Linked DNA regions of Homo sapiens: regions 1, 3, 4, 5 and 6 are each linked to region 2. The links are contacts of gene promoters, found by promoter capture Hi-C in blood cells and fetal thymus (Javierre and others, 2016). All regions are on one chromosome and are shown on one strand. The core of a region is centred on a gene start or on the middle of the fragment in contact, and the rest is flanking DNA. Distances in the headings are between cores, read along the strand shown. Region 1 overlaps NR1D2 (nuclear receptor subfamily 1 group D member 2). Region 2 holds the start of NGLY1 (N-glycanase 1). Region 3 overlaps NEK10 (NIMA related kinase 10). Region 4 overlaps NR1D2 (nuclear receptor subfamily 1 group D member 2). Region 5 holds the start of SLC4A7 (solute carrier family 4 member 7). Region 6 overlaps LOC124906221 (a long non-coding RNA gene).

Region 1 (2,700 bases), core at 38-2,537, 1.8 Mb after region 2:
GCTCATGCCTGTAATCCCAGCACTTTGGGAGGCCGAGGCGGGCGGATCACCTGAGGTTGGGAGTTCGAGACTAGCCTGACCAACATGGAGAAACCCCCTGTCTACTGAAAATACAAAATTAGTTGGGTGTAGTAGTGCATGCCTGTAATCCCAGCTACTCAGGAGGCTGAGGCAGGAGAATTGCTTGAACCTAGGAGAGGGAGGTTGCGGTGAACAGAGATCATGCCATTGCACTCCAGCCTGGGCAGCAAGAGAGAAACTCCATCTCCAAAAATAAAAATAAAAAAACAAACAACAACAACAACAAAAAACAGCTAGTAATTTTTAAGTGGTAAGGATTAAAATTTGACATGAAACTTCATATATGTGTACTTGTATATGTTCATACAGTGACATAACAAAAATTAGAATGCACTGTATTCTTTTACAATCAGTCTTTCACACTTAATTTTCCATTTTTAAAATATATCCTATATAAACAAACAGGTAAATGGATAGATGGATAGGCGAATGGATAGATGGATAGGTAAATGGATAAAGACTCCCCAATATTAATAGTGATCTTTTCTGGTAGTGATATTATAACCTTTTTTTTCCATTTTAATATTTTCTACATTTTCAAAGAACCCATATTAAATTTATAATCAGAAAAAAGGCTTTTTCAAAAACAGATTAAATCAAACTAAAAATCATGTTCCTATCCTGAAATAACAAGGTTCGTTCCTGGCATACAGAGTTTCCCTCTACCCCTTTGCCATCATTTCTTCCTCTGAACTACCTCTGGGAAGTTGGCCCTTCTACTTCATCTCACCTGCCTTAATTTATTTTAGAAGAGTTCACCCCACCTGATGTCATTTCAAAAGCTTCTCAACCTAACTCTCTAGCACTAATGACTTACCTATCTAATCTGCCCACCACAATAAAAATGCAGAATTAATGTTAAACATCACTTTGTTCAACCAGATCACTCTCCTACTTAAGAAGGTACACAGACTTTCTTCTGCCCCATATTTTGGTTAAAATCTCCCCGCTTAGTTCTCATAGCTGTTAGTCCATAACCTGGTGCTCCCCTAACTCTGAAGGCTTTTGTCCCCCTTCCTCCTTGATGTACACTCCAGGCTTTGGCCACCTGACCCTTCCCCGGCCCTATCTCGTACTCTCTCATGCCTTTCCATCTCTTCTTCACTGGGAAAGCTTAATAATTCAACCTTCAAATTCCAGCTCCACTTCTATCTTTCCCCACAGAGCCTTCCAAGATGATTTCACCTTCCTTTCTACAACTCCAGCTTACCTCAGACAGAGAACTACACGGTTTAGTAGCATAAAGCTCTTTGTGTAGTTTCATCTCTCCAAAAAGAATGAAAACACTTAGCAAGCTTGTGCCTTAAAGCTTTCTGTCTCCCCCTGAGCACCTAATAGGTACGGCATATTCATCAGATAAATAATTTAACAAGTATTGATTATCTGTGGTTTCAAAATAATCGATTAATCTGATGTCAACTCAAACCAATACTAATTACTTATCAAGAGATTCTGCAAATGATAGGTAAAATGCAAGAGGCATTATAAATTAGCTATAAAACAGATATCCCTTATTGACATATTCCTTTCATACTACTCCCACGTCATATACACATTTTTAGTTATCCAGGTAGAGCTGGTCAGAAAAGGTAGCCAAATTATGTTACCAAATGGCAAGTCTTTATTCCACTGAGGTACAGGTCCTCAAAATTATACAAATAACTTGTTTTTTTTTTGTTGTTTTTGTTTTTGTTTTTTAACACGGAGTCTCGCTCTGTCACCCAAGCTGGAATGCAAGCTGGTGTGATCTCGGCTCACGGCCACCTCTGCCTCCCAGGTTCAAGCGATTCTCCTGCTTCAGCCTCCTGAGTAGCTGGGACTACAGGCACGTGCCACCATGCCCGGCTAATTTTTGTATTTTTAGTAGAGAAGGGGGTTTCACCATGTTGGCCAGGCTGGTCTCAAATTCCTGACCTCAGGTGATCCACCCACCTCAGCCTCCCAAAGTGCTGGGATTACAGGCGTGCACCCCTGGCGCCTGGCCAAGAACTTGTTCTCTTTCAAGAGCTACTAATTTATGGTTTAGCTACATAATCAGAGGCCGTAACTTATAACTCTCACAATGCCTAGCACAGTGCCCTTTACACAGTAGGAAGCAAATGGGAAACAAAGTCATAACCAAATACTAAAAAATTCCCAAATGTTATACAATAAAATGATGCCTAAAAATAGCTGGCACTTACTTAGACATACCCAGGAAAGTACCTCAATTTCCATTTGTTATTGGGAGTAACAATCTCTGCCTTAATGGGTACTGTCAGAAATAACTGTAATATTAATGCAAGATGGCAGGGGCATTGGGAAACATCATAAATGACTCATATAAATAAACATTAGAAACTCAAAAATCTTGCTCACTCATTCAAACAGTGACTGAGTAGCTCTTCTATGCCAGACACCACACTAGGCTCACATGGTACAACCCCTTCCTTTGACAGGATGAGGAAGGAATCCAAGACCCAAAAGAGTAAAGTTACTTACCCAAGTTACCCACATAATTCAATGGCAGAACTGGACTAAAGCCTACAACTAATTCACATTTCTCTGCAACAAACCACACTAATACCTCTTGATACTTTTAATGTTTTCAAGTAACCCACATTGTATTTGAATGGAAAC
Region 2 (2,820 bases), core at 31-2,530:
AACTGGATGTCATAGCTTAGGGTCTTGTTCGGAGATTCTGGAAGAAAATTTCAATTCTTAAAAGTAAACAGATGAAACATCAAGAAATTTAAAAGAGGTTATTCAGGCAAATCACTTATCTTAAGAAATAAAGTCAAGAAAAATACTTCGTGAGGTTGAAAAGGAATTTCTGCAAAGAAGGAAGCCACTGGTAAAGTACACTTTCAAGAACATGGTGGGGAAGAGACTGGATTAAAGTAGTAAGGGATGCATCTTCTAAGAGGAATAAAAGACCTTGATCACATGATCTACCTAAAAAACAAGTCACAAAATATTACTTACCCTTACTGTGTGGGATGCAAATTTTTATTCCCTTCCCGCCCCCGACATTCTATAATATTGCGTAATTATTATGCATGTGTTTTACGCTGGTCACCACGCGGTAAACCGAATCCACAACCCATTATTATGTCGCAACCTATGGTTTAAAAATACACTTCCTTACAGAGGAATCATATACTAGTTGAGCTGGAACTTAGATTTTCAGTCATTAGCCAAATTCTGAAAAGAATCCATATAACAAACCCAGCAGAGTTTATAGCCATGGTTTTGTTTTTGACGTTTGTTGCTCCTTCCTTCTGTAGTCTTTCATCCACATCTATGTAGAACGTCCTGACAATCTGCGAAGAGAAGGCTCTAAGGTGGTTTTATTTGTGGGGAAAGGAGGGAGGTACATGCGGTTTCTCCACCTTAATAGCTGGATCAATTAGGCTGGCCCCGGAGCGCAAAGGGATCCGGGTTTCTGAGAGGCACGTGCCAGCACCATTCGCCCGATACCTCTAGACCAAAGCCGGCCTCCCCTCCAGCCGAGCTCCTCCGTCCTAAAGGACTCGACATCCCCCTCCTCCAGGCCCACACCCCTCAGCCCCGGAGCCCAGGCCCCGCCTCTCCCTGCGGAACCCCTTCCCAACCTGTACGACCAGGCCCCAACTCTGGGTCGAAGCACCTCGCCCCTGCCGGCCGAGGCCCCCCACCTTCTTCCGAACAGCCCCTTGCCCCCCGCGAAGGGGCAGCCGTAGCTCCCAGCCGAGCTCCCCCGCTCCTGGCCCCGGTCCCCGACCCCGCCCCAGGCCCCCGACCCCGCCCCTGCCGGCCGAAGACCCCGCCCCTGCCGGCCGAGGACCCCGCCCCTGCCGGCCGAGGACCCCGCCCCTGCCGGCCGAGGACCCCGCCCCTGCCGGCCGAGGACCCCGCCCCTGCCGGTGGCTGCGGTAGCTGCTGCGCGCTGAGGCGCCTGCTCAGTGTGGGACGCGGAGAGCGAGGGGCGGCGGCGGCGCCCGCTGGCGCTCAAGCATGGCGGCGGCGGCATTGGGCAGCTCCTCAGGCTCGGCGTCCCCGGCCGTGGCTGAGCTCTGCCAGAACACCCCGGAGACCTTTTTGGAGGCCTCCAAGCTGCTGCTCACCTATGCTGACAACATCCTCAGGTGCAGGGCAACGGGGTCGGACGGCGGGTACCGGGGTGGGTGGGCCGCGGCACCTTGTTCGGCCAGGGACTGGGGCGTCCGGCCTGAGCTTCAGAGGGCAGCGACGCCCGGACAGACCGGGACCTGGAGCTGGTTCTGCTCCTAACGTCCGAGCCCGCCGGCCAGGGGCCTCGGGACCCGGCCAAGTCCCACCCCCGCTCGAGAAAAGGAAGTTTCTTTGCAGTTGTGACTTGGCACCTGCAGTCAGGGTGCTGCGGGTGAACTGGAGTCCCGGAAGCGGGGCCGGGCGGAGGAGAGGTAGGAAGGCGTGCTTCAGACACTGCCGCTCTTCTCGTCGTTTAACGGCCTCAGATATCGGGACACAACGGTAACCGCACCGCGCGTGTCATTCCCCCTGCGTGCATTTTTCGAGCGGAGTGGCTTACATTTCCACATACTTATCAGAAGTTACTCACTGACAAAGTGATGTTTTCTTCCCATGTTGAGACTATCCGAGTACTAAAGCATAATGCTTCTGAAGTGGTGGGTTTTAAAATTTTTAATTTTTTTTCTGCCCACTTTTGTTGATTGAAACATTATAGTATTTTGAAGTTACAGTTTTTATATTAATACCTGGATTCTACTATGTAACATAACCCTTTAAGAATTCGTGGAGGTAATCGCCTTGGATGAGAGTAATTTCCTTCATTCTCCTGTCAGCAAAATTGCACTTCTAGAGGTCTAAGGGACCTTGCAGATTTTGGGAATTGGGAGGCAAGTTTGATTATTCATTTTGAATAAGTACCCACCTCAACTCTTCAGATCAAATGATCTGAAGGGACATGGTGTGGGGGGGTAGGGAAATGGAACTGAGGTTAAAGGAGAGCCACTTGCTTTAGGGGTGTTACCTCATTTATCAGGTCACCGTGATTAATTAGGTTCTCTGTTCCCCTCAGCCCCTGGTGCATTAAGTGTTTGGTATATTGTCATGAAGTCTAAAAGGAAATTCTCAGTTTCAAGGTTATAGGTTTCACGTGACCCAATTTTAGACATTAGTTACATGTGCAGTTTTTAAAATCCATGTCAGTAATATTTCATTTAGGCAATGGTAATGATTTTTAAAGTAAATTGAAGGGAAAATATATTGAGCCCTTATTTTGTGGCAGATGCTATGAAAGATGCAACATGTGGCCTGTTCACAGCTACATAATTGTGACCTGTGTGGGGACCACCTTCGTGCTCTGTGACACCTTCTCAACTCACCTTTTTTACTCTTTGAGGCCTTACAGCTCTTCACAGTACAAGGATGCCAAGGGACTCCATAAATGAACTGATAGGCTGGGTTCTCCAGAGCCCATTAGCTGAGACTTACCACCTG
Region 3 (2,703 bases), core at 11-2,510, 1.6 Mb before region 2:
ACCTAGCTCATAGGATTCTTTTAAAGATTATATGTACATAATTCATACCAAAGGTATAGTGCTTTATATATAGTAAGCTTTCACGTTTAAAAATGAACACACTGGGCTGGGCATGGTGGCTCATGCCGTGAATCCCAGCACTTTGGGACGATGAGGTGGGTGGATCACCTGAGGTCAGGAGTTCAAGATCAGCCTGGCCCACATGGTGAAACCCCATCTCTACAAAAAATACAAAATTAGCTGGGCATGGTGGCGCACACCTGTAATCCCCGCTACTTGGGAGGCTGAAGCAGGAGAATCCCTTGAACCGGGAGGCGGAGGTTGCAGTGAGCCAAGATCACGCCACTGCTCTACAGCCTGGGCAACAAGAGTGAAACTCCGTCTCAAAAAAAAAAAAAAAAAAAAATGAACACACTGAAGTCTAGAGCTGTGAAATTGTCATGGTGAGTTTACAAAAGGTAAAAATCAATCTTTTGATTCAGTCAAGTGCAATTTCTAGGACACCATCCTGTTGTTATAGTACTTGATCACAAACTTTTGTGTTTGGCGACAGCTCTGATACAGCTCTGAGTCTCAATCATTCAGTGAGTATTTATTGACCATCTAATGGGTTTGGGGCTCCATGCCCAGTGAGGGTGAGCCAAAAGACAGTGCAACAAATAAAGTCTTCAGGAGGTGGAAGAAGGGCCTGGAATGTTACTCTGCCTGTCACAGCCAGTCAAGCTTTGAGGCTGAAGTCAAAGTGAACTGGGTTGAGCACTTGGATAGGCAGAGAGGAGCTGGAAGTTCATCCAGACAGTCAACAAATATTTATTGAACACCTGGGCCTTCAGCAGTGAACAAAACAAAGGCACTATTCTCTTAGGACAGTTCTCAGGGCGCAGTAGAGCAGAGTTCATAGAACACAGATTCTGGAGCCAGACTGCTTGGGTTGTAATCCTAGCTCCCCAAATCCTAGATATGGGATTGGCAAGTTAACTTAATCTTTCTGCACCTCAGTTTCCTCATCTGTAAAATGGGGTGGTTGTGAACATTACATGAATTAATATGGAAAAATTTCTTAGAACAGTGGTCAGTATGCCTCAGGAGCATGTAAATGTTATTTATTTGTATTGTGTTCTATTTGGAACACAATACAAGGAGAGAAATAAGTAAAGCAGGATGAGGGAATAGTAATCATCAGCTTGTGGACAGGGTGTATGGCTTGGATTTGGGAATAAGTCTTACATTTTGAAAGATTTCATCTTCTAGATGAAAGTGAACTTTAAACAAACTCATGTATATGCCTGATATGTATCATGATTTAAAAAACAGGAATGGCCAGGCATGATGGCTCACTTTGGGAGGCCGAGGCGGGAGGATCACTTGAGGTCAGGAGTTTGAGACCGGCCTGGCCAACATGGTGAAACCCCGTCTCTATTAAAAACACAAAAATTAGCTGGGTGTGGTGACGCGTGCTGGTAATCCCAGCTACTCTGGAGGCTGAGACAGGAGAATCACTTGAAGCTGGGAGGAGGAGGTTGCAGTGAGCTGAGATCGTGCTACTGCACTCCACCGTGGGCAATAGAGCAAGACTCCATCTCAAAAAAAAAAAAAAAAAAAACACAAAAAAAAAACACAAAAAACCAAAACAAAAAAACAGGAATATGAGCACTGGATAAAATACATAGTTTTTTTATTTGGTAAAATAATTACTTATCTATAGGTCAAACTCCCCTCATCTCAGCTAAAATCTGCCATGGTCATAATGAAAGTCATGGACTTAAGTCCATACAGTTGGCATCAATTCAAAGCTTATTAAATCTTATATTAGAAATAGTTATGATAGACACAGATTCTAGCTTCAAAGCAGTCAGCAGAATCAAAGTGACAAAATGACAATTGACTGGCTCATGTCTACAAAAGATACCTAAGCCCTCCTGTAAAAATTAAAGTAAAAACTACAAGCAGGACAGATAAAGCACAGCAGCCATAACACTGACCTTGGGCCATGAGGAAAATGTTCCACAGTAGTTAGTATATTTTGCAAAAGACAGTTAATATGAAAAGTATGAATAAAATAATATTTCTTTATTAAAGAAGTAAATATTTATCTAGAAAATTCACTTAGGTGAATAGAGAGCTGGATAAATGCCACCAATAAATGAGAGTTAGTACTGCATTAGATTAACAGGAAGGGTTCTGCCTGGCTTCAAATCTCTGCTCTGCCACTTACCAGCTGTGGGACCTTGGCAAATGAATGAACCTCACTGGGCCTCATTTCCTTCATGTGTAAATTAGGGACAGTAAGGGTAGCTACCTTACAGATTCATTAGGAGTGTTACATTAGGTAATGTATAGAAAGCACTTAGAACAGTGCTGGCACTACCATGTAAATGTTTGCTCTTATTATGACTGTTGTTATTACTAGGTATGAGATCTTGGCCAAGTTCCTTGACATTTTAGTGCCTCAGTTTCTTCATCTGTAAGTTGGAGATATAATACTAATCACCTCAGAGGGTTGTTTTGAGGATTAAATGAATATACTAATGTGCTTGTAAGAATAACCCTTAATAGGTTTTTAAAAATTAAAATGAAAACCATTTGTGACATTGAATTTAAACTCTATTTTTAATTTTATCTCTAGTATTTTTCATTAATGAGTCAAAGTCAATGAATATAGACAAATGATTTAAAATAAATACATGGCCGGGTGCTGTGGCT
Region 4 (2,700 bases), core at 85-2,584, 1.8 Mb after region 2:
CCTAGCCAGTGTCATGTTACTGGATAAAACCATTGTGCTGTCTTTATATAACTTTAGAGATCTTAAGTCCACATTAAAAATTCCAGGTATTAGCACACTGCTACTTTTTCACAGATGTCTCCACTCACAATAGGACACTTTACAAAGACAAATATTCTTAGTCCTCAATGAAATTCCAAAGGAAGATCTCACAGCTATTTGTCTTCTCTAAAATAGTGTCTTAAGTACTAAATTCACATCTAACATCTCAGGAAAATAAAAGATAAGAAAGTGATGTTTTTCCTTGGAAGTAAGACTTTCCTAGGGCCCCCATTTTCAGTCATTTATGTTCACAAGATCTGCTGACTACCTTAGCTAAGAAATAAACTTTTAGAAATTAGAGCTGGCCGGGCACAGTGGCTCACGCCTGTAACCTCAGCACTTTGGGAGGCCGAGGCAGGCGGATCACCTGAGGTCGGGAGTCCAAGACCAGCCTGACCAACATGGAGAAACCCCATCTCTACTAAAAATACAAAATTAGCCAGGTGTGGTGGCGCATGCCTGTAATCCCAGCTCCTCAGGAGGCTGAGACAGGAGAATCACTTGAACCCGGGAGGCGGAGGTTGCGGTGAGCCGAGATGGCACCATTGCACTCCAGCCTGGGCAACAAGAGTGAAAACTCCATCTCAAAAAAAAAAAAAAAAAAAGAAAAAGAAAGAGAAAAGAAAAGAAATTAGAGCTATGCAGATGGCTTAAAAATTGGTTGCAAGCACTGACGGGGCAATGGACTGTATCGTAATTAATTAACCAAAAAACAATTTCCTTTGCAAAAGCTTCAATATCCAACCTAAAAGAAACTACTGGGCTATTATCAATCCAGCGAAGATCCAATTCCTGTCTTAAGAAAACAAGCATCTGTGCCAGGCACCAGAAAATCAAAGAAGACCCATCTAGAAGTAGCTGCATTCTCCTAGCAAGACCTTCAATATTGATTTAGTTGTCTTGGCATCTATTCTTGCTACTAGACACCCATCTATGAACCTGACTGATAGCAACCCAAATGGGTTAAATTTTAATTTCTTAGAAGAAAAGGAGTACATCTAGTAGTTCCTCAACCTAATGAAGAAAGGAAAGTGAAACTACAAGTCACCAAGTACCTACTGGATGTCAGGAATAAAATGACACAATTTCATCCTCACAAGAAGAACTCTGTGAATTAACTTTCATCAAATCATTTTTTAAACAAGGAGCTCAGAGAGGATAAGTCAGCCACTAAGTGGCAGGCCAAAGTTTAAAGTCAAGGTTGTCCAATTCCAGAGTACAAACTTATTTGGTGAGAAGACCTGAGCAAGCAAGTCACTTTCAATCTTTCTAAACCTGAGTGGTCTTCTATAAAATTGGAATATCTGCCACTTATTACAAGACTGAAATGAAATGGCATTCATAAGTGCTTTTTTCATACACTGTTTTTGATGATAAAGTAAGAAGAGTAAAAATCCCCAAACCAGCAAGTCCCAACACCTCCAAGAAACAGGCAGTATGTACCTCTTTGAAACCCTGAGCTAAAATTAGCTGAAGCAGTCTTCTCTATTTTCAGTTGAAAGGGACCCTGGACCTGGGCCAGGTTCCCAGGCTAGGGCTTACCCAGTGGTCAACTTCAGACAAGCCTTAAGTCAATATCCAATTTTGTACTGCTAGGAAGCACTGATATTCCTGCATATATTGGGGTCTTCTTACCCATTTTCTACACTTGTCCATCATCAAAACCCTCACACTTCCTCTGTCCACCATCCTGGAGATTATGTTTGACTTCAAGTCATGACTGTACTTTTCTGCCTTGTGACTTAGAACAAAACATTTTATCACCAAGAAGCTTTAGTTTCCCTCATTTTAAAAGTGTTATAAATAATTTCTACTCCAAGGGTGGTAGAGTAGATCTAACTGAAGCACTAAAATTCCAATTGTGTCCTAGGTGTCAGGGCTCCAGAGAACAGCATGGTCCTTTCCCTAAAATGCCTTATAGGCCAACTGGGGAAACACCTATGTTATTAGGAGCAATGTTTCACACACATGATTGTGACTGCTGAGGATCATACTAAAGAGGGCAGAAATCAATAGGGGCAAACACATCCAAGGTTGCAATATCTAAGTGGGGAATTGAAGACTGTTTAAATCATCAAAAGAGACATTTTTTAAATAGGGTGACACAAAAATAAATGGTGTGTTTTTTGTTGTTTTTTTTTTTCAGACGGAGTTTCGCTCTGTCACCCAGGATGGAGTGCAATGGTGTGATCTCGACTCACTGCCACCTCCGCCTCCTCGGTTCAAGCGATTCTCCTGCCTCAGTCTCCCAAGTAGCTGGGATTACAGGCACCCGCCACCACACCCGGCTAATTTTTGTATTTTTAGTAGAGACAGGGTTTCACATGTTAGCCAGGCTGGTCTCGAACTCCTGACCTCAGGTGATCTGCCCATCTCAGCCTCCCAGATTGCTAGGATTACAGGCATGAGCCACCATGCCCAGCCAAATCGGTCTTATTTTATAAAATAGACATTATTTTTATCTCCATGTAAATTACTGGAGAAGGGAGGTCAAGGTGTAATCTAATGTCTGGAAATAAGCCAGCATGACTAAAGAGAGGACTGATGAAACTGGGAGGCCCTGCAGATGACTATCCTTTTCCACTAGCTATAACCTACATATATCACTGCAAATTGAGT
Region 5 (2,700 bases), core at 157-2,656, 1.7 Mb before region 2:
GCTGGAGTGCAGTGGCGTGATCTCAGCTCACTGCAACCTCTGCCTCCTGGGTTCAAGCGATTCTCCTGCCTCAGCCTCCTGAGTAGCTGGGATTACAGGTGCCTGCCACCATGCCTGGCTAATTTTTGTATTTTTAGTAGACACGGGGTTTCGTCATGTTGGTCAGGCTGGTCTCGAACTCCTGATCTCAGGTGATCCGCCCGCCTCGGCCTCCCAAACTGCTGTAATTACAGGCGTAAGCCACCGCGCCCGGCCAAATTTCTCATCTTTATGAAACACTCAAGAGAAACCTGTTAACAATAATGAAAATTATCAGCATGCTATGTGCCAGGCACTTTTATGAATATAAATCCCCTTAATCCTTCAATGAGCCTGCATGGCAGGTATTACAATCATCCCGTTACAGAAGGGATATTTGAGAGACGGCCTACAGGGTGGACTCAATAATGTGGCAGCTGGCCGGGTGTGGTGGCTCATGCCTGTAATCCCAGCACTTTGGGAGGCTGAGGCTGGTGGATCACCTTAGCTCAGGAGTTCGAGACCAGCCTAACCAACATGGTGAAACCCCGTCTCTACTAAAAATACAAAAAGTTGCCGGGCGTGGTGGCGCGCGTCTGTAGTCCCAGCTACTCAGGAGGCTGAGGCAGGAGAATAGCTTGAACCCAGGCAGCGGAGGTTGCAGTGAGCCGAGATCATGCCATTGCACTCCAACCTGGGCTGGTGCAAGACTCTGTCTCAAAAAAAAAAAAAAAAAAAAAAAAAGTGGCAGCTGTCGTGGTGCTCAGTGGGCGAGCAAGCACAGGAGGACACCTGGTCAAGTGTACCCCATCTTTCACGGTCCCTGAGTTGGGGTTCGTGCCTACTGGATTGACAGAAAAGAAACTTCCAGGAGTCGTGAAGACTCGTTAGTTGCTTCGGAGGGTTATCCTGGGCGTCCTTGACAGAGGTGGCGTCCTCCTTCCCTGCAGCCTCTAAAGAATGTAGTTAGGAGCCAAGGGAGGTGGTGACCCCCCACCCCATTGAGAACGTCAGGGGAGCTTCCGACTTGAAAAACTAGTTAGACGCTCAGCTTCGGTCAATTAAGCTTATACAAAGAGGGGCGGTGCGTCCTGAGGAGGTGGCACGGGGGAGGCGAGCGGAAGTCCGCCAGCCGCCGATTGGCTGGGACAAATGTCCGTCCCGCCTCCCTCCCGCCCCATCTCCCGGTGGCCTAGCGGCGCGGCCCGCGGGCGCGCTGAGGAGGCTGGCGGTGCCAGACTGGCAGGGGGCGTGACCCGAGGAGGCGGGGCGGGGGGGCGTGTCTTGCCTGGCCCCGGCGCCGGGCTCGTCACGGTTTGCGGCTCCGCCCCCGAACCCCTCCTCCTACGCGGCTCTCCTCCTTCCCGCTCGGTCCGCCGGTTCGCTCAGTTCTAGCTTCAGGTTCCACGCCGCGGCCTCGCTCTCCTACTAAAGCCAGCCCAGCAGTCGCAGCGCGCACACGCACGCCCCGCGTCTCCCGCGCCCGGCGCCCGGCTCTCCCCACGCGCGCACACCTCGCGCACGGACGCACCCACGTTTGTCCTCGCGCGCCGGGGGCTCGGCGGCGGCGGCAGGGGCAGCGGCAGAAGCAGGCAGACCGCGCGGGGCAGTACCGTAGCGGCCGTCACGGGCTGGCCGGCCGGCCATGGAGGCTGATGGGGCCGGCGAGCAGATGAGACCGCTACTCACCCGGGTAACGAGCAGGGTGAGGGCGCCGCGGCGGTGGGGCTCCTCCGCAGGGGGAGGGCGCGGGGCGAGGCAGACAAAGGCGGGGGGCGCGGCGGGCGTCGCGGCTCGGCCACCTCGTCCCAGGCCCGTCGCCCCTCCACCTCCCGGCGGCCGGCGCGCCTCGCCATCCCCTTTGTGTGGCGGCCTGGGGCGCGGGTGGGAGGGGGCCAGCGGCTGCGCTCGGGAGGCCCGAGTCGGGGCGGCCGGCGGCGCGCCGCGGGCATCCTCTGCGCGGCTCAGGCGGGACCCCGACATCCCCGCAGAGGCCGCCTGTGACCCCGACCATCCATCCCTTCCCTCAGCGCTCGCCTCCCCTGTTTCTTAGCGCGCTCCCCAGGCGGGGTCCCGGTTCCGGTTGCCTTGGCGCAGGAGTTTCAGATTAGCCCTCGAAAACCTATCTTTCTTCTCCTTCTAAGGAGGACGGCGGCTCCACCTGTCTCTAGCCCCAGGCAGTGGTGAAGAGCTGGTTGAATCTTTCCCCCTCTTTCCGAGTGTCCCCTCCCGCTCCGCGGTGCGCTTTGTTCGGTGAGTTCTCCGGCCGCGTGGACTGGCCGCGCTCCTTCCCGGCCAAGGCTCTTTCGCTGTTGCCTGCCGGGTCCGCCTTCTCCACTGGCTGGGACCCGGGGAGTATCCTCCTGCCGCAGGCCAAGTAGAAGGAGGAGGGTGTCCTGAGCTGTCTGGTGCTCCTTCTCTAACTCAGCTAGCAAGATCGCGTTTCCTACTGAGACTGGCTTTGATTTCAGGGTTAGAAGAGAATGGGGATGGACTTAAGGCCGGTGTTCCCATTTGTGATGATGGGTGAACGGCCCATGCTCAAGAAGCGGACTTCCTGCTTTCTTTAGAGCACATGCGTCCCCGCAGTTGTCTCTTTCTCCTTTCCAAGTTCGTGACTCAAAGGAGATGGAAGTATTCTAAATTTTCCTACTTCTAATTTTTACTATGCAACCAGCAAAG
Region 6 (2,700 bases), core at 11-2,510, 1.9 Mb before region 2:
AGAGACAGGTCCTCACATTGTTGCCCAAGCTGGGCTTGAACTCCTGGCTTCAAGTGGTCTTCCCGCCTGCCTTGGCCTCCCAAAGTGCTGAGATATCAGGCATGAGCCACCATGCCCGACCAATATGCTATTGTCAGGTGGTGCAGAAAATACACTTTGAGAAACACTCTTTTAATTTGAGGATGCCCTTGGGCTGTCCCATGTGATGGCTCAGGTCACAACAACAGAATTCTAAATGATATGAAATGAGAGGCTGGGCACGGAGGTGCATGCCTATAATCCCAGCACTTTGGGAGGCCAAGGCAGGCGAATCGCATGAGGCCAGGAGTTTGAGACCAGCCTGATCAACACGGTGAAACTCCATCTCTCCTGAAAATACAAAAATTTGATGGGCTTGGTGGCTCAGCTTGAACCTGGGAAATGGAGGTTGCAGCAAGCTCAGATGGTGCCACTGCACTCAAGCCTGGGTGACAGAGCAAGACCCTGTCTCAAAAAAAAAGATATGAAACTAGATGGTTTCCCCCTTCTCTTTTCATCCCTAGCCCCCAAAACTATACCCTAAGAAGTGAGCTGGCCAGGCATGGTGGCTCATGCCTGTAATCCCAACACTTTGGGAGGCCGAGGTGGGCAGATCACCTGAGGTCAGGAGTTCGAGACTAGCCTGACCAACATAGTGAAATCCCATCTCTACTAAAAATACAGAAATTAGCCGGGTGTGGTAGCAGGCACCTGTAATCCCAACTACTCGGGAGGCTGAGGCATGAGAATCGCTTGAACCCAGGAGGCAGAGGTTGCAGTGAGCCAAGATCATGCCACTGTACTCCAGCCTGGGGGATAGGGTGAGACTCTGTCGCAAAAAAAAAAAAGAAGTGAGCCAAATCAGACCAATAATTCTTTAAGGTCCTGGAGTTGAGTCCTGCCTTCTGTCTTAGAGTGACACATCACACAACCATCTGGAGACAACTGGGTCTAAATGATTACAAGATTGCCTTTCTCTAGATGGACAAGGAGAGGGGAGACATTTCTGTGCCCATATTTTCATTTCTATCTAAATATCTCATTTCAAATCTGTTTAAAAATTCATAACTGATTCTCCCCGCATCCCCACCAAACCCCTCTCCCCCACTGATAAAATTGAACAGAAACCAGAATCCAAATCATTGAGCAAATAGAGGATGAAGCTTAAGAGACATCTAAATTAAATACACTATATTTAAGACCCTTGTCTCCCACGGCACTTGCTAAGTCCTGGTGAAACAGCACAACACGAAGAGGGTGTTGAGAAAGAACAAGAACCAGAAATGTCAGAGCTCTGATAGGGGAGCCAAGGAAAGCTTCCAATTCAAGGACTGAAAACTCAGATACCTTCATAGGCAAGACATCTATGTGTCATGGCTGGTTATATAAATGTATGCAAAGCAATTGTGAAAATAGGGTGTGCGCAATAGAGAGTGGCGAGGCCTATGGCAAACTAGAGAATGCGTACTCTAATCAATAATACTGGGCTTAAAACTTTGAGGCTCATCTTTGTCTGCAGACTACTAATTTTTGAATATTCAATATAGGCCCCTTTTAGCTGAGAGGAAACCATTTTCTGATGTCACTCCAGGCCTCATATTCAGCTGGTATGAGCCCATAAATCCATACTTGTTCTGCATAGTCAGGGTCTAGCCACACCTGTTTTTAACTATTTGCCTGTCACCTCTGAGTTCACACAATTAGCAGACCAAAGAACTGAAAACACATGTACTCTCTCTTCTGTCTTCTGCCCTTAAAAACTTACTTACATTTTACATTCATAATATGGAAAAATAAATGTATATAAAAAATTTTAAAACAATAAAAAGTCATCCAGGCACTGTGGCTCATACCTATAATCTCAGCACTTTGGGAAGCCAAGGCAGGAGAATCGCTTGAGGCCAGGAGATCGGGACTAGCCTGGGTAAATAGTGAGACCCTGTCTCTACAAAAATTAACATCAGCCAAGAATGATGGTGCGTGCCTGTAGTTCCAGCTACTTGGGAGGCTGAGGTGGGAAGATTGCTTGAGCATAGGAGTTCGAGGATGCATGATCATGCCACTGCACTTCAACTTGGTGACAGAGCAAGACCCCATCTCTAAAAAAATAAAAAAAAAATAGATGCATAGATAAATGTATCAGTGTAAAATAAGATAATTTTCCAATGAAAAGGACCTGAGATTGTATTAAAAATTCATCTGGAGAGCAGATCCATCTGCAGGATGACACTGACAATCCAAACATTTGTTCAACCTTCTTTTGTTGACCTCTGAGTTCTCAATAGACTGCTTGCGCATGTGTTCTCATTGCGGATACGTTAAAACATATTGAAAAAACTTCTCCACCTTAATTTTTTAAAGTATATTAATAAATACAAAGTCTTGCTTTGTTACTGTCAAGGAAGTTCAGTTTTAAAAAACCCCCGAAATTTGGCAACAGTCAATAAACAAACCAATTGATTGTGAGTAGAAATGCCACAGGTATTTACCCCCTTGAGCTGAGAGCAGGATGTTAGTCAGCTCTAGGAGCTAAGGATATTTTCTGTTTTGTTCTCCTCTGTGTCCCCAGAGACCTAGGATCATGCCTGCCACAAAGACAGCTGTCTGGAAGAGTCAAATTCTGAAATATTTCAAAACCAACTTCTGTTATGCAGAGGTCCTTTACCTCCAAGGGCTGAATGA

The links. Contacts are between HindIII fragments. The CHiCAGO score rates a contact against its expected background, and 5 or more counts as called.
Region 1: a contact is called between a fragment that was not itself captured here and the fragment with the promoter of NGLY1 in region 2, in 1 of 17 cell types (total B cells). The highest score is 5.5, in total B cells.
Region 3: a fragment that was not itself captured here is called in contact with the fragment with the promoter of NGLY1 in region 2 in 1 of 17 cell types (non-activated CD4 T cells); the score reaches 5.8 in non-activated CD4 T cells.
Region 4: a fragment that was not itself captured here is called in contact with the fragment with the promoter of NGLY1 in region 2 in 8 of 17 cell types (activated CD4 T cells, total CD4 T cells, total B cells and 5 more); the score reaches 13.7 in activated CD4 T cells.
Region 5: a contact is called between the fragment with the promoter of SLC4A7 here and the fragment with the promoter of NGLY1 in region 2, in 4 of 17 cell types (fetal thymus, non-activated CD4 T cells, activated CD4 T cells and 1 more). The highest score is 16.2, in fetal thymus.
Region 6: a contact is called between a fragment that was not itself captured here and the fragment with the promoter of NGLY1 in region 2, in 1 of 17 cell types (non-activated CD4 T cells). The highest score is 6.0, in non-activated CD4 T cells.

The regions. Positions count from the first base shown.
Region 1 is chr3:23,968,367-23,971,066 of GRCh38, reverse strand. The region is part of intron 7 of NR1D2 (nuclear receptor subfamily 1 group D member 2); the gene reads right to left. Among named protein-coding and RNA genes, the nearest start is that of NR1D2, 24 kb to the right of the region's middle. RefSeq lists a silencer at 2,023-2,223. The HindIII fragment of the contact is 182 bases long and covers 1,197-1,378 here.
Region 2 is chr3:25,781,903-25,784,722 of GRCh38, reverse strand. NGLY1 (N-glycanase 1) reads left to right here and starts at 1,280. Exons shown (of 12, transcript NM_018297.4): 1 at 1,280-1,463. The coding sequence starts at 1,333. RefSeq lists a silencer at 1,091-1,330 and enhancers at 1,641-1,690, 1,851-1,930. The HindIII fragment of the contact is 11,918 bases long and covers 1-2,820 here.
Region 3 is chr3:27,364,511-27,367,213 of GRCh38, reverse strand. The region is part of intron 1 of NEK10 (NIMA related kinase 10); the gene reads left to right. Among named protein-coding and RNA genes, the nearest start is that of NEK10, 3.5 kb to the left of the region's middle. The HindIII fragment of the contact is 1,070 bases long and covers 726-1,795 here.
Region 4 is chr3:23,948,889-23,951,588 of GRCh38, reverse strand. All of the region lies in intron 1 of NR1D2 (nuclear receptor subfamily 1 group D member 2), which reads right to left. Among named protein-coding and RNA genes, the nearest start is that of NR1D2, 5.0 kb to the right of the region's middle. RefSeq lists a silencer at 2,557-2,700. The HindIII fragment of the contact is 1,040 bases long and covers 815-1,854 here.
Region 5 is chr3:27,483,090-27,485,789 of GRCh38, reverse strand. It overlaps SLC4A7 (solute carrier family 4 member 7), which reads left to right and starts at 1,406. Exons shown (of 26, transcript NM_001321103.2): 1 at 1,406-1,723. The coding sequence starts at 1,664. RefSeq lists enhancers at 748-877, 1,356-2,132, 2,148-2,207, 2,238-2,447, 2,608-2,667 and silencers at 1,008-1,487, 1,518-1,877, 1,908-1,977. The HindIII fragment of the contact is 9,889 bases long and covers 1,087-2,700 here.
Region 6 is chr3:27,643,376-27,646,075 of GRCh38, reverse strand. All of the region lies in intron 1 of LOC124906221 (a long non-coding RNA gene), which reads right to left. Among named protein-coding and RNA genes, the nearest start is that of LINC02084, 68 kb to the left of the region's middle. The HindIII fragment of the contact is 153 bases long and covers 1,184-1,336 here.